Regions from separate parts of the Homo sapiens genome. Here all the other regions are linked to region 3. Evidence: promoter capture Hi-C in human tissues and cell types (Jung and others, 2019). All regions are on one chromosome and are shown on one strand. Each heading gives the region's core, a stretch centred on a gene start or on the middle of the fragment in contact. The rest is flanking DNA. Distances are from core to core; before and after follow the strand shown.

Region 1 (4,413 bases), core at 775-3,274, 800 kb before region 3:
GAAAAGGTGCTAATTTATTTTGCATTTGCTTAACTGGTGATGTTGAGCATGTTGCACTTTTAACTGCTGAAGAGGAATTTCATGACTTTTTGAAAAGAAAACCTCTTGGTTTGTAAATACTCTCAGAAAAGAAAGGATCATTTCTTGGAAAAGGGTAGAAAGTGAATTCCCTTTCCTTTAGCAGGGGACATCCTTTCCCTCACATCTCACAAAAATCCAATCAACCCCTCCCTTTCAAGGTCCAGCATAACTGCCAGCTCCTCTCTGAGAACTTCCAAGCCCGGAGGCCAGAAGCTTCCTCTGAGATCCTCCATGGTAGCCTACGCATAAGTCTCTCCCAGGCAAGCTCTCAAGCACGCTTCTTGAAAGCAGAAATCCTATCCTACTTACCTAGCTACCGGGCTTTGCAAAATCCTTTGCACATACTCAATTACAACGAACGCATTGAGGCATTTGTTGCCAGAATCCCACTTACAGTAATTTTCCAGATCTCCGTCTTCCCTACACCAACACCTGGACCCACTCAAGAGTTATTCTGGAGCGGAAATCCTGGATCCCGCTATCGGGAGAACCAGTGTCTAGAAAATGAAATCGTGGTGCCCATTCCATCCTCTGCCTAGTGGGCGTTTAACATCCTTTGACATCGAGGGGAATGGCAAAACGAAACATTTATTATTTAGGTCACCAACAACATTCTAAACCCACGTCCTCTAATCGGTGTTAATGTGTTTAAAAAAAAAATTCAGAACATCATTCGCCAGAACGGAAAGCTGAAAACGGCGGATAAAGTTAAATGCATGTAAAACAGAATGACTTAAACATCTGTAAAAGCTCCTGGGAATTGCACCGAATAATCTTCCCTTGTCCGTTTGCTCGCTCAATTCAAGTTTGTTTAGTTTAGTCTTTTTTTCTTTCTTTCTGACAGAAACGTGATAGTCCCTAAATACAAGCTGACCGGGCAAAGAAAGATCGGCATACGAGGTCCTCTTTCATGTTGCCTTCTTTTGATAGCTTTTCTCCAAAGTCTGAGGTTTTCAAAGCCGAGGTATGAACTAAAACCCCTAAACCTTAACACCACAAAGTTGACCCTGCTGGGCTCCTAAAAAACACAAAGCAAGCAAGCGCGAAGAGAAAAATCGCACCCTGCACCTATCCAGACAGCACAAACCCAGGTGGCCCCGGGATCCTGGGGGACAGAGCGGCGACAAAGCAACACAAACCCCACGTCGAACAGCGGCGCCGCGTGCGCACCCCGCGCCCGCGCCCCGGCCCCGGAGCTCACCGCTGCGCTCCTTCCTTCCATCTTCCATCGCCAGCCCGGCCGCGCGCCGAAACCGCCGCCGGGCGCTCCGGGGCCGCAGCCTCAGGGCGCGAGTGCCGGCGGCCAGCGCCGCGTGCTCTTTGTTGAGCTCCCGGGACTGCCGAGAGGCGGCGGCCCGCGCGCACCCTGGCGGAGGCTGGCGAGGCTGCGAGCCCGCGGCAGCCGCCCGCCCGGCCCCCAGTAACGTCAAAGCGAAGGCGGCGCAGGCGGGCCGGCGGTGGCGGGCCCCGGGGGCGGAGGGCGGAGGGCGGAGAGGCGGGGCCGACGCCTCGGGGAGGGGGGAGGTGGCTGGGCCTCCGAGGCGGGGGCGGGGTCTCCAGGGCAGGGGCGGGGCCTCCGGGGGAGGCTGGAGGCGATCCAGACCCTCGCAGTGCAGCCCTCGAGCGGCCCGGACCGTCCGCTGCCTCCCGCAGCCGCGCGCCCGCCCTGGGCCCAGCCTCCAGCCCGCGAGCGAAAACCTGCCTGTTGCTTTGTCTTCTTCCTTCACAGTTTTCCCACCCTGAGAAAAGTGAGAGGTGCTTTCCCTGGTGTTTCCTCTCAGGAAGGGCCGTGTGACTGGAGCCGCGAGTTGGGCGCCGTCTCGCCGGGGCTGGAGGTACGCGGGCTTCGGGACACGCACCTAGGCGTCCCTCGGGGTCCCGGCCTCTCTGACCGGGCTCCCCCGGCACCGATCCGCGGCCGGAGCGTTTAGTCCCGGGGACCCGTCGAGCCCTGAAAGGGCCATTTCCCCCTGAGGCGAGTCCCCCCAGGCGCCCCGCAGCCTGGCCTCGGGACTGCCCCCACCGACAGTGCGTGCGCGGGGAGAGGTCACTTAAAACTGCATTTTCGAACATTAGTGCCCCGGACCCGCACCTTTTTTCCTCCGTCCTTTGATCTGTGCCGCAGAGGCAAGGGCTGGAACGGCGCCCTCCCCTGGTAGAGGGACGGAGAGACCGCAAATCTTTCCCCCTGGGAGGTCCGTTAAGTAGATCCAAGCACCTGGAGGCGGAACCTGTGTGGCCGGCTACAGGGTGGTCCTGTGTATGTGTTACCGCCTTATTGTTCCAAAGAACAGTCTTTTTCAAGTGACAGGTAGAAGACGCCCCAATAACGAGAAGTGACTGACTTGGCCAAGCTTAGAGATGGGAGTGGAGTCAGGTTCCCTGGTGGCCCCACGATCTCGCCCACCATGTCAGCATGGGCTGCCCGGTGAGCATAGCTGAGATGCACCAAGGCCACATAAGTCACCTACTTTGCCTTGGCTGCCCCATCTGCATCTATCAAAGGAAGCCTTGGACACCCACCAGAGGAGCCAGCATGAGGGAGTGTATGCCTTTATACAAATTCACTCCAACTTCAGAAAAACGTCCGCAGCTCATGCTCCCCCTGCCAGAGCAGCAGTGTGAGCAGCTGTGTAGGTTTGGAAGCACCCCAGTCACTTGGGCATTGATATGGTTTGGCTGTATCCCCACCCAAATCTCATCTTGAATTGTAAGTCCCGCAGTTCCCAGGTGTGTGGGAGGAACCTTGTGGGAGGTGATTGAATTATGGGGGCGGGTCTTTCCTGGGCTGTTCTCGTCATAGTGAATGAGTCTCACGAGATCTGAAGATTTTAAAAATGGGAGCGCTTGTTGCACAAGCTCTCTCTTGGCCTACTGCCATCCGCTTAAGATGTGACATGCTCCTCCTTGCTTTACGCCATGATTGTGAGGCCTCCCAACCATGTGGAACTGCAAGTCCAATAAACCTCTTTCATTTGTAAACTGCCCAGTCTCCGGTGTGTCTTTATCAGCAGTGTGAAAATGGACGAATACAGGCATATTTCTCGTTTGTGATCTCCCTTTACCCTTGCGTACATACCCTACAGAGACAGTCCCAGTGTGCCTATTCCCAGTCAACTCCTGCCTTCCTTGACGGTTTTGTTGGCAAAGCATCAAAAGTAAGACCCAGTACAAAATGTAGTTGCTACCCTGAGGCTTGACCACTGGCCTACTGGCCTTTACCTGGGAAATTAACCAACTCATAAACAAACAAAAAAAAGTAATCATATAGGAGGCAGGGTGGACATAGATTTACTTGATATTTCTAGTTAAGGGACTTGGGCATAGACATCTATAATCTGAGCCTCTGTTTCCTCATTTATAAAATTGGGTTAATAATGCCATACAGAAGTGTTATTAGCATGATAAATTAAGGAAAGCTCCTGGCCTATAGTGAATGTTCAATAGAGGAGCATTTCATAAGTGAAGCCACAGAAATGTGTTTCCAATTTCCATCGCAAAGGAAATTTTTAATTGGTTTTATCCCTGAAGCCAAAATATTTTAAGATTGTACTTATAAAGCTGATCACATCTATTAAATAATCATTCATTCGTCCAGTTATAAATAATCAAAGATAAAATGGTTAGAGGTTCTGATCAGCATAAATTAGCCAGTGTTACCACTACTAAGTCAATGAAGCCTAAAGCAAATCAAATAAACATTGACATTTCATTTTTGCCAGCATGTATTTTGTGTGTAAATATTTTGTTAGGCTTTTGGAAATATTAAAAATGAAGTAAGAATCCCCATTTCTGCTACCATAGCCCCCAGTGCTCAAGTTCAGTGTCAGAATACACAAGCACCCGCCTTGGTAAAAAAAGAAAGGAGGCACGCAGACCACCTAGGCATGGGCTAGTGTATATTTATCCAATAACATATTCCTCCCCCACCTCTTCCCATGAGCCCTAATGTATGTGGTGTGGAGAGACTATATAGTAGGCAAGACATTATATACTGCAGGTCAAAAGAAGAAAAGGAAGATGAAATTCCATCATGTATTATTCATGCATACAGTTAATCCTTCCTATTTCTGAAGGTCACTGAAAAGCCCAGATTATTGAATATTTATTTTTTAGTACAACATGAACGTTTATTTAGAATGACAAAAATCTCAAATACAAATTTCTAAGAGTTGACAAATCCCACAAACATTACCAAATCCAGAAAAATCACACAATAGTTTTATCTACCACCTACATAATATTTTGTAGTAATAAACTTCCTAAAACACTTCAGTAATATTTGTCTTCACCTGTTTTCTGCTGCTATAAGAGAATACCACAGACTAGGTA
Region 2 (4,524 bases), core at 1,560-4,059, 950 kb before region 3:
CAACACCACAATCAGCCTTCCCAACCTCTTGCACCTTTCTTTAAAAGAGCAATTCAGCCGAGAACAGTGTCATCCTGTGCTCAAAAAAAAAATCACTGTCCAATACCGCCACTGAAATAATCTTTAATGACAAAGTAAAGACAGATCTTGAAACAGAAAAGGATTTAAGTAAATCTAGGCAATAGCAAAGCAAATACATTTTTGTTTTGTTGAAGATATCTGGTCTTGTTCTAGATCTACCATGAAATCATTACCACTTGGTCCAGTTCAGCATAGCTCAGTAAGAGCACGGGCTCTGGAGGCTGACTGCCTGTGTTCGAGGGCTGAGTATGCCACTTACCATCTGTGTGACCTTTAGCAAGTTACTCAACCTCTCTGTACCTCAGTTTCCTTATTCGGAAAATTAGAACACTAATAGTTCCTTTCTTCCCCCTATAGCTCATTATGAGAACGAAGCATCATGTGTTTACTAAATAAATCAAACCTATGGGCCACATATGACACACAATTATGTTCAGAGACTAGCTAAAGTAATAATATTTTTTACAAGCTAGCGACTAACACTTTATACATTAAAATCAATATTTAATTTCCTTGGTTCATGTCTACCAAATATCAAGGAGGCGCGATCAGGGGAGAATTCATTAGTCTTATTCCTTTTCTTTTAAGCCTTCCTCAGAGCTCACTTTATGCAATGTACTCAGACCCCCACCACTAGCAAGGAAGCAGGAGAGGCGAGTGAACACAGATGGAATGGAGGCATGGCCACTGCTTTTATTTATGACTTTTCTTTTGTAAATATATTAATACAATGGGAAATTTTTTTTCCTTTAATTCTAACACTTGGGCCCTCAGTGCTTGGCTGAAGGACAGGCTTAATACCTCAATGTCCACTTCCTTGCCTCGGCAGAGGGATGTTTTAACGCAGATGAAATTTTAAAAGGCCAGCTCACTGATTGCTTTAAAAATGTGTGGAAACGTGTGTATTATTGACCTGGTAAATTTTCCTTCAAATTGAATGCATACACCACCACCGACAACAACAACAAGCAGCTCTACATTTAGAACTTAGTTTCTTGAAAACAGACCATCTCAGACTTCCGGCTTTATCAACACATGGCATGAGAGAAATCCGATCAAAAGAAGAATAACAAAATAAAAGACCCAACACCTAGCACAGTGAATGAATCCGGCCTAGGAGCCAGACAACTTGAATTCTACTACGGTATCTGTCACAAGACAGCCACGTGGCTTTGGGTAAGATATCCCACCAAACTGGAATACAGATTCTATGTTATATATATATATATATATATATATATATATATATATATATATATATATATATATATATATATTTTTTTTTTTTTTTTTTTTTTTAAAGGCTATCTGAGGCCCCTTCAAGTAGTAAAATGTTCTCATTCTCTAACCCACAATAGTAACACAATTCTTCTTTGGTTACAACTTCTCCAAATCAGCAAGGAAGGTAGAAGGGAGTAAAGAAAAATATGGGTTTTTCAGTTTCCTTAAAATTTCTTAGGATCATTAAACCTGCCCTACCTTTTAACCTTGAATAGAGACATACATCACAAAATAAAGCTTCCTCCACCTGTAACCACTTATTATCATATGCCAACCTCAAATAACACAAAATGGGGGAGTCCTGCCAAGCTTGTCTGTCCAAGCCACTGGCAGTGCTCAGCACATGGTAGGATGACCACCAATCAGGAATTGTACAGTAGGAGTGCCCAGACTCGGGGAGAGGCAAGCTGGCGCGTCTCCAAGGTGCTTGTCACTCACCACTAGAACGTGGTCCTTTACCACTAGACAAGATCTCCTGGTTTGACAATGCAGGTGACACAGCTGAAACTTTATCTCAACACGGCCTGAAGAATACCACTGTCTAAATATGAGATGCTAAAATACTATGACCTACTCTAATATTCTCTCCCAACTCTGTCCATCCTCGTGACTGGCACCCATGCTGGCCCAAATGATGACAACCTCCTGTTCTAAGTGCACAAGCCGCACATTTAATAAACCTTTCACCCAGTTCCTTCACTGGTGTTCATCTCTCGGCTTCACTTACAACCACTCCCTGTGGCTTTTGCAGTGAAGCCTCTTAGCCCAAAACTCTTCCACTCCCCAAACCATGTTTGGTCTGTAATATAAACAACTTCCACTCACCCTAGAAAACTGAGTGGGAATTTCAGTGCAATTATCTGCATACCTTTCCTACAGCGTTTTATCACAATTTGCAGTCCTCAGAGACGAAGGTGAAAGGGGAGGACTAAGGTGGCACCCTCCACTGAGGAGCACCGCCTCACGGGGACACTGCTTTCAGGAATGCCTCCTCGCCAGTACTCTTCCACTGAGAGACACTCTGATCTCAGAGATACAAGAAGTCTAGATGTGGACTAACCAGGCAACCAGTTCATATGCACACACTTACCCAGGCTCTGCTTTGTACCATGTCCTGTGCGAGGTGCTTTAGTCTCTATTAACCCTTTAAATCTCACAGCCTCACAACACACTGGATCATTAACCCCATTTCGCAAATAAATAAATCCAGTTTCAGAGAACGTAAGTGGCTTGCCCAAGTACTTCAGACCAAAGTCTTGTGGTTTTGACACCTTGTTCTTTTTATTCTCACTGTGACCCAGTAAGACAACCAATATCCACAATCCATATTCACAAGAAAATGCATAGCTACAATGTCACAAGGAGCCAATCCTGAATTTGCTCATCTAATGAACTATAAACCTTCAAACTGGTTATAGAAAATGCTCAGCACAGGGCAGACTGCTCAAAAAGAGAGGTCCATTGAAAACCTGTAATATTAATACTGGCTTTTTTTTTTTTTAACAAAAAACACTGGTATTATTTAATACAGCTTTAAACAGCTTTAAAATAGTTGATCACCATTTAACACCTCCCACCAGCTCCACACAAACATACATACATACACACACACACACACACACACATATACCAAAACAAAATTCATAAAATTGTCACAGGTAGATAACCTGAGGATGACGAGCATGAAGAAATGAAACGCTGGATAATCCATAAATAGTCGCGGAATCCCCAAATAACAGGCATGGTGGATACAATGTACATAATTTGTCATTTTATCTCCCAGATAGATTAAAAATCCTAAAGTAGAGAGAGAAAATAAATACGGAGCCTAGACCAAGATATCAGCTCTCTCAAGCATCTGTCTAATCGGATCCTTCCTTCAACACGTCAGGAACAGGAAGACAGAACAGGAACTCTCAGAGCAAAGGGCTGGAAGAGACTTTGCTGACTGTATAGTCCACCACTTTAATTTCCAATGAAGGAATCTCTGAGCTAATCAAACAATCTTCTTGAAGTCTTCAACCACCCTCAGTGCCAGACTAAAGCTACGATCTCTCAGTGTTCGTTTCACAGCACCACGTCTCTGCCATCATCGGAGCTGATAACCTCACTCATCATCCCCAAATATTTGTTTGGTATCCAATTTATATATAGTCATCCAGGAAATCCCACAGACTAAAATGATCACAGTGTGCCAATGTGACAAACCACTAAGGTGTGTCTTTCCTGCCCTAAAACTCAAATTACTTTTTACTCACATCATTTGCTTATGTCCACAGAAATTGGCCAAATGATTTAAATATATATTCCACACTCAGATTTCCCAGAAAAGAAATCCTACAAAAACCACCAGCATGAAATGAATGAGAATGGGACGAGTACCTTCCCCAGAAAGCAATCTCCGGGGTGCCTTTCGTGTAGATGGAGTCGCTGGCATCATTCAGCCCATTGGTGACGCCACTAGAATAGCCCATCACGATGCCACCATCTGCAGACACACTCAGGATATCCTGATGTCCTCCCCCTGATGTCCTCTCCAAGAACTGACCACCTTCTTTAATGCGCTGTTGTATCATTGGAGTGAGGGGCATTTCAAAGCTAAAATAGCTATCAGGCTCTGAGTATAATGTCTCCAGGGACTCTGCACTGTAGTATAAAGAAGTGTTGTCCAAAATGGTTTCAAACTGGGAGCTGTACACGTCGGTGGAGTCCTCCGTATATCCAGGCCCAAGGATGTCTTCATCTTCCCCCTTAACGTGCTCCTCTTGTTCGCTGATCCTGGAAAGTAAATAAGAGTGAAGAATTCCAATATTAGGTTAATGTCTTTATTTCTCCCACTTCAACCATATAAAAAGGACAACATTCTGAAGATCTAACTCTTCTATTCATTGACTTATATCTTAACATATTTGGGAAGGAAGCTATGAAATATAATCAGGTTGAAAAATTCTTGGCATGCATGTGGCTAGGACACTATAAATACTTTAATAAAGTTTCAAACTAGTTTCCTAATGTGTGAATACATCTGGTCCAATGAAGATATGAATAAAATATTCAATTCTCATTTTAGCCAAATATACCGTACACATTCAGATTATTTGCAACTACCAGCATTCCTAATTATAACAGAAGCAGATAAATATATCATGGAAACTTGATACG
Region 3 (4,594 bases), core at 387-2,886:
GGCACACACCTGTAGTCCCAGCTACTCCACAGGCTGAGACAGGAGGATGGCTTGAGCCTGGGAGGTCAAGGCTGCAGTGATCCATGATCGAGCTGCTGCACTCACTGGCAGTCTGGATTTCAGAGCAAGACTGTGTCTCAAAAACAAACAAACAAACAAAAACAGAATTTCCTTATTTAGCCTCTAAATTTAAAATCTTAATTTACAATTGTTATTCCACAGAACACTAGGCTCAGGAACAAGTGTGGAGTTGTTTTTTTATTTTTGGTAAAGACCAAAACCAGAAAGTTTAATGACCAAATCAGTCATTTTTACCATTTGAAAATTCTTACACTTCATATATTAACATCAATGAAATAATTTTAACAATTCAAGCTAGCAATCTGCTTTTATGCTGTACACTTTATAACATAAAAATTATCCTACTCCGTTTAAATCCAATTTTCTACCATCTTCTATTCTACAAACCCAAAATAACTGTATCACTGAGTAATCCTGGCCCATAAAGTAATCATACAGTTATGCTGTTCTGTGCATAAGTAGGAGATATTAAACAGTGCTTCGAAGCCCAGCACGGTGGCTCATGCCTGTAATTTCAGCACTTTTGGGAGGCGAAGGAGGGCGGATCACCTGGGGTCGGGAGTTCCAGACCAGCCTGGCCAACATGGTGAAACCCCGTCTCTACTAAAAATACAAAAATTGGCCGGGCTAGCGCGTCGTGGTGGACGCCTGTAATCCCAGCCACTCGAGAGGCTGAGGCAAGAGAATCTCTTAGATGGAGAATCTCCTAGATGTTTTTCATCTCTTAGATGGAAAACAAATCTGGAGTTTTGGTGAAAAGGACATTGATTGTGGCTGGAGGAGATAATTATAATAATAGCGTAGTTATCTTTCTGTGGGTTTCACGTCCAGAACATTTAAAACATATAAAACCCTTGCTGGGTCAGGGTTTTAGTCATCTTTGCAGCTCCCACGGACGGCATCCACCAAAGCGCTTTCCAAGTACTTCGTTGCTCAATAAACGTTTGTTGGAGAAACCGGTGCATAAAGGTGAAATAATAAAACGTGGACGGATTTCGGAAAGAGAAGGAACCCCGGAGCTCACGCTTTGCACGATCACCCCCACCAGCCCCAGGAGTTTTCGCGTAAATCGAAGCCCGGGGAGTGAGTCGCAGGCAGCGGCCCCCGGGGAAGGTGTTTCAGGCCGGCCCGGGTGGAGAGTGCTTCCCGCCGCCTCCCCGACCCTCTGCTGTTCCTCTCAAACTTCTTCTCAACCTTCCACGCCGGGGGGACGCCCAGGGACCGCCCATTCCCCGGGACCGCCCGTCTCCCCGCCCCCGCCTCCGCCCCCGCCCCCGACAAACTGAGCAATACCCAGAGAGGATGGAAATGGCGAAGAGGCCTGGCGCCTGCCCGCTCCCGCGCATGCTCCCTGACTTCACCAAGGTCACGCTGCAGCCCGCAGGAATGAAAATCCACTTCTCCGCATTTTCGAGGTGACCTGGAAGCGGTTCAACTGCTCTGGCTTCTCAGAAGAGGAGGGGACCGGGCGGTAACGAGGAGCCAAGGGGAGGAGACTGCTCGCAAAACCCGGAAAAGCTTTCCCGATCCACTCTGCCAGCCTCCGTGCGCCTCCAGACATGCGCAGTAGCCTCCCCCGCGGTGGCGGCGGCGGCGGCGGTGGCTGCCGTGGCGGCTGAGAGTCCAGAGCCGGACGTTCCGGCCGCTTCGGGCTGGCGGCTGGAGAGCGCTCGGGTCATGTCTGCCCAGGGGGACTGCGAGTTCCTGGTGCAGCGAGCCCGGGAGTTGGTGCCGCAAGACCTGTGGGCAGCCAAGGCGTGGCTGATCACGGCCCGCAGCCTCTACCCGGCAGACTTTAACATCCAGGTGAGGTCCCGGCTGTGCATGCGGCCGCTCTGCGTGGAGGTGCGCGCTCCCGTCGCCCGGGCTGCCCTGGCCCAGAGCTGCGCCTGCCTGGGGGCTGCCGCCTCCTGCCCGGCCCCCTGCTTTCTCCCCTCCCACCCCCTCCTCTCTCCCCTCCCATCCTACACCTTGCTCCTACACCTTTCACCCGCCTTGCTCCTACACCTTCCAGGAGCCCTCTCCCCAGCACTTGAGAGACGGCCGATCCCGCTTGAGGTCGGGTGTGCTTAGGTCCCTGGGGCTCAGCGTGCCATCTGGCCTAGACAGCACATGATCGCCACTAGCAAAAGGCCATTCGCTCCTTCATTCATCATAATGGCAGCAGTTTGTTCAGGGCCTGCGACTTTGGAAATATTATCCTACTTAATCCTGGGAGCCTGAGATTGCAGGTGAACCCCAGGGTCACACTCTAAGCCCAATGGCAAGTCTGCCATGTATGTGGCGCTGTGTCACCAGGCGGAGCTTCACTCTCAGGCCCTCCCTTCCTGCAGGAGGGCCAACGAGCGATGCTGGATGAGCTGGGAGCCTTCTGGGCAGGGGTGAGTGACCAGGGTGCCTGATGTGTGTTGCAGTATGAGATGTACACCATCGAGCGGAATGCAGAGCGGACCGCCACCGCCGGGAGGCTGCTGTACGACATGTGAGTGGGACGCTTGACATCACTTTTACTGCACTGAATCTCTCCATGAGGTTTTGTTTCTCTCTGCAGAAGTGGGAGTTGGGGGAAGATCTTCAAGTTCATCTATATCTTCGATACCTAAAGCAAACCTAGTAAGGAGTCCAGGCCTGCCATAAATTGCTGACATGGCTTTTGCAGAAGAGTTTAATTATTATTCTTATGTTTTATCCTTGTTAAAACTTCTGTTTCATAATTTATTCTAGAAATAATATGTGCTCATTACAAAAATTCAAACACTACTTGTTATAGAGAACAAAAAGTGAAAGTGCATCCTAAACTGAACCAGAGTTAAGTTTTGTAGGCAGTATATCTATACATGTATGCATAATACATAAATAAGGTTTTGGGGGGAAGGGGTTACAAAAGTGAGAAGACCATACTACCTTTGCCCTGCAGCATGTTTCCTTTACTCACTCTCATGGACCCCTTCCCATATCAGTATGTAGAGATCCACTTCATTCCTTTTCATGCCTGTGTAGTATTTCGTAGACACTCTCTTCTTGGTAGACATTTAAATAGATAGTTTTAAATTATTTGAAATTATATTCAGTGTGTCAACAATTTTGTAGTCATATTTTGGTGTTTTTCTGTGGAATAGATTCTAAGACATTTTCATAGTCAAAGTTTATGCGCATTTGAAAATTTGATACGCTATGAAATTACTCTCCAAAATGTGCGATCCCAGTCTACATTACCACCAATGGTGTATAAAGAGTGTGTTTTCCCATACCCTTCCCAACACTGGATATTATTAGTCTCTTTTTAGTTCTTGTCACTGTGATAGGAGAAAATGGTATCTTGCTATTTTAAAAAAAAATTTGTACTACTCATACTGTTAATAAGATTCAGTATTGTTTCAACTGTTCTCTTTGGCTGTGTGTATTCTGTGATTTGCCTTTGCCTATTTTTTCTTTCAAATAGTTTGTTTTATTCTTGTTGACTTTTAGAAGCTCTTTCTATGTTATGGTTACTTGTCTTTTCACCTATAAAACCCACTAAAGACTTATGTGAGTACTCTCATTTTTATAAATCAAGTAATTCTTATTTTTACATTTTTATTTTGGTTTGTTTTGGCACGTCTAAGCATTCACTTGGAATAAAGGAAACTTTTTCACCAAATGCTAACGTTTTTTCTTTTGGATACTGTATAGACTTTGACATTTTAATTTAATGTATTTATTTTAAAAATAGGTTTGTGAATTTCCCAGACCAGCCGGTGGTGTGGAGAGAAATCAGCATTATTACATCAGCATTAAGGAACGATTCACAGGACAAACAAACCCAATTTTTAAGAAGTAAGAATAATGGTGTATAAGTTACCATTTCGGGAATACCAAATCATATATAGTAATTTCACACACAAAAAAGTCACACCTGGGGTATTGGTAACCATATGTATGTTTTATTCTTGGCAACCAAAGTCTATAATAATGTCACTCGGTTCCTTGACTTGCTTAGAACCCTTTAAGCTTCTTTAAAGGATATGGATTTATCAGTGAGACGAGGAATTAATTGTATATATTTTTAACAGGTTTTACAATAACCAGATAGCAGCTATAGATTAACCAGCTCTCCACAAAACAGGAGAGAAGCTTTTAGTAATTTAGAAGCTTTCTCTTTAAACTTCTGTATGTTGCTGTAGTCAATCAAAGATTTCAAACTCTAGATAAAATAGCAAGTAGATGCATAGGTCATTTGAACTTCAACAAGCACATGCTCTCTATCTCAACCTGCAACAGGCATTCTTGTGACCATTCACATACATCATTGTTTTTTGAATTTGATCAGTCTTGCAAATATTTTACCATTATTCAGCAAACATCCTGTGCCAGATACTATTGGCTCCAAAAGGCTGCCAGGTTGTAGGTGAAACTTAACTGCATTGATTTCACATGTAGTGTTTACTGTTCTGTACATGAAAATGCCTTACTCAGCACTGTTGCTGCAGTCTTTTCTGTCCGCAAGAAACTTTTAAAAGTGAAATATGTTTCG

What was found. The method cuts DNA at HindIII sites, captures the fragments that hold promoters and counts their contacts. A contact is called where the count stands out against the background at its distance.
Region 1: a fragment that was not itself captured here is called in contact with the fragment with the promoter of INTS10 in region 3 in 1 of the 25 tissues and cell types used here (hippocampus).
Region 2: a contact is called between a fragment that was not itself captured here and the fragment with the promoter of INTS10 in region 3, in 1 of the 25 tissues and cell types used here (hippocampus).

The regions. Positions count from the first base shown.
Region 1 is chr8:19,012,281-19,016,693 of GRCh38, forward strand. PSD3 (pleckstrin and Sec7 domain containing 3) reads right to left here and starts at 1,423. Exons shown (of 16, transcript NM_015310.4): 1 at 1,283-1,423. The coding sequence starts at 1,303. It overlaps LOC124901898 (a long non-coding RNA gene), which reads left to right and starts at 1,723. Exons shown (of 2, transcript XR_007060840.1): 1 at 1,723-1,916. RefSeq lists silencers at 1,307-1,406, 1,477-1,566. The HindIII fragment of the contact is 4,673 bases long and covers 1-4,361 here.
Region 2 is chr8:18,863,930-18,868,453 of GRCh38, forward strand. It overlaps PSD3 (pleckstrin and Sec7 domain containing 3), which reads right to left. Exons shown (of 16, transcript NM_015310.4): 4 at 3,745-4,140. Among named protein-coding and RNA genes, the nearest start is that of PSD3-AS1, 150 kb to the left of the region's middle. The HindIII fragment of the contact is 4,896 bases long and covers 362-4,524 here.
Region 3 is chr8:19,815,780-19,820,373 of GRCh38, forward strand. INTS10 (integrator complex subunit 10) reads left to right here and starts at 1,637. Exons shown (of 17, transcript NM_018142.4): 1 at 1,637-1,887; 2 at 2,496-2,563; 3 at 3,794-3,897. The coding sequence starts at 1,759. RefSeq lists silencers at 1,218-1,357, 1,878-2,007 and enhancers at 1,508-1,587, 1,628-1,687, 2,188-2,277, 2,488-2,577. The HindIII fragment of the contact is 14,804 bases long and covers 1-2,835 here.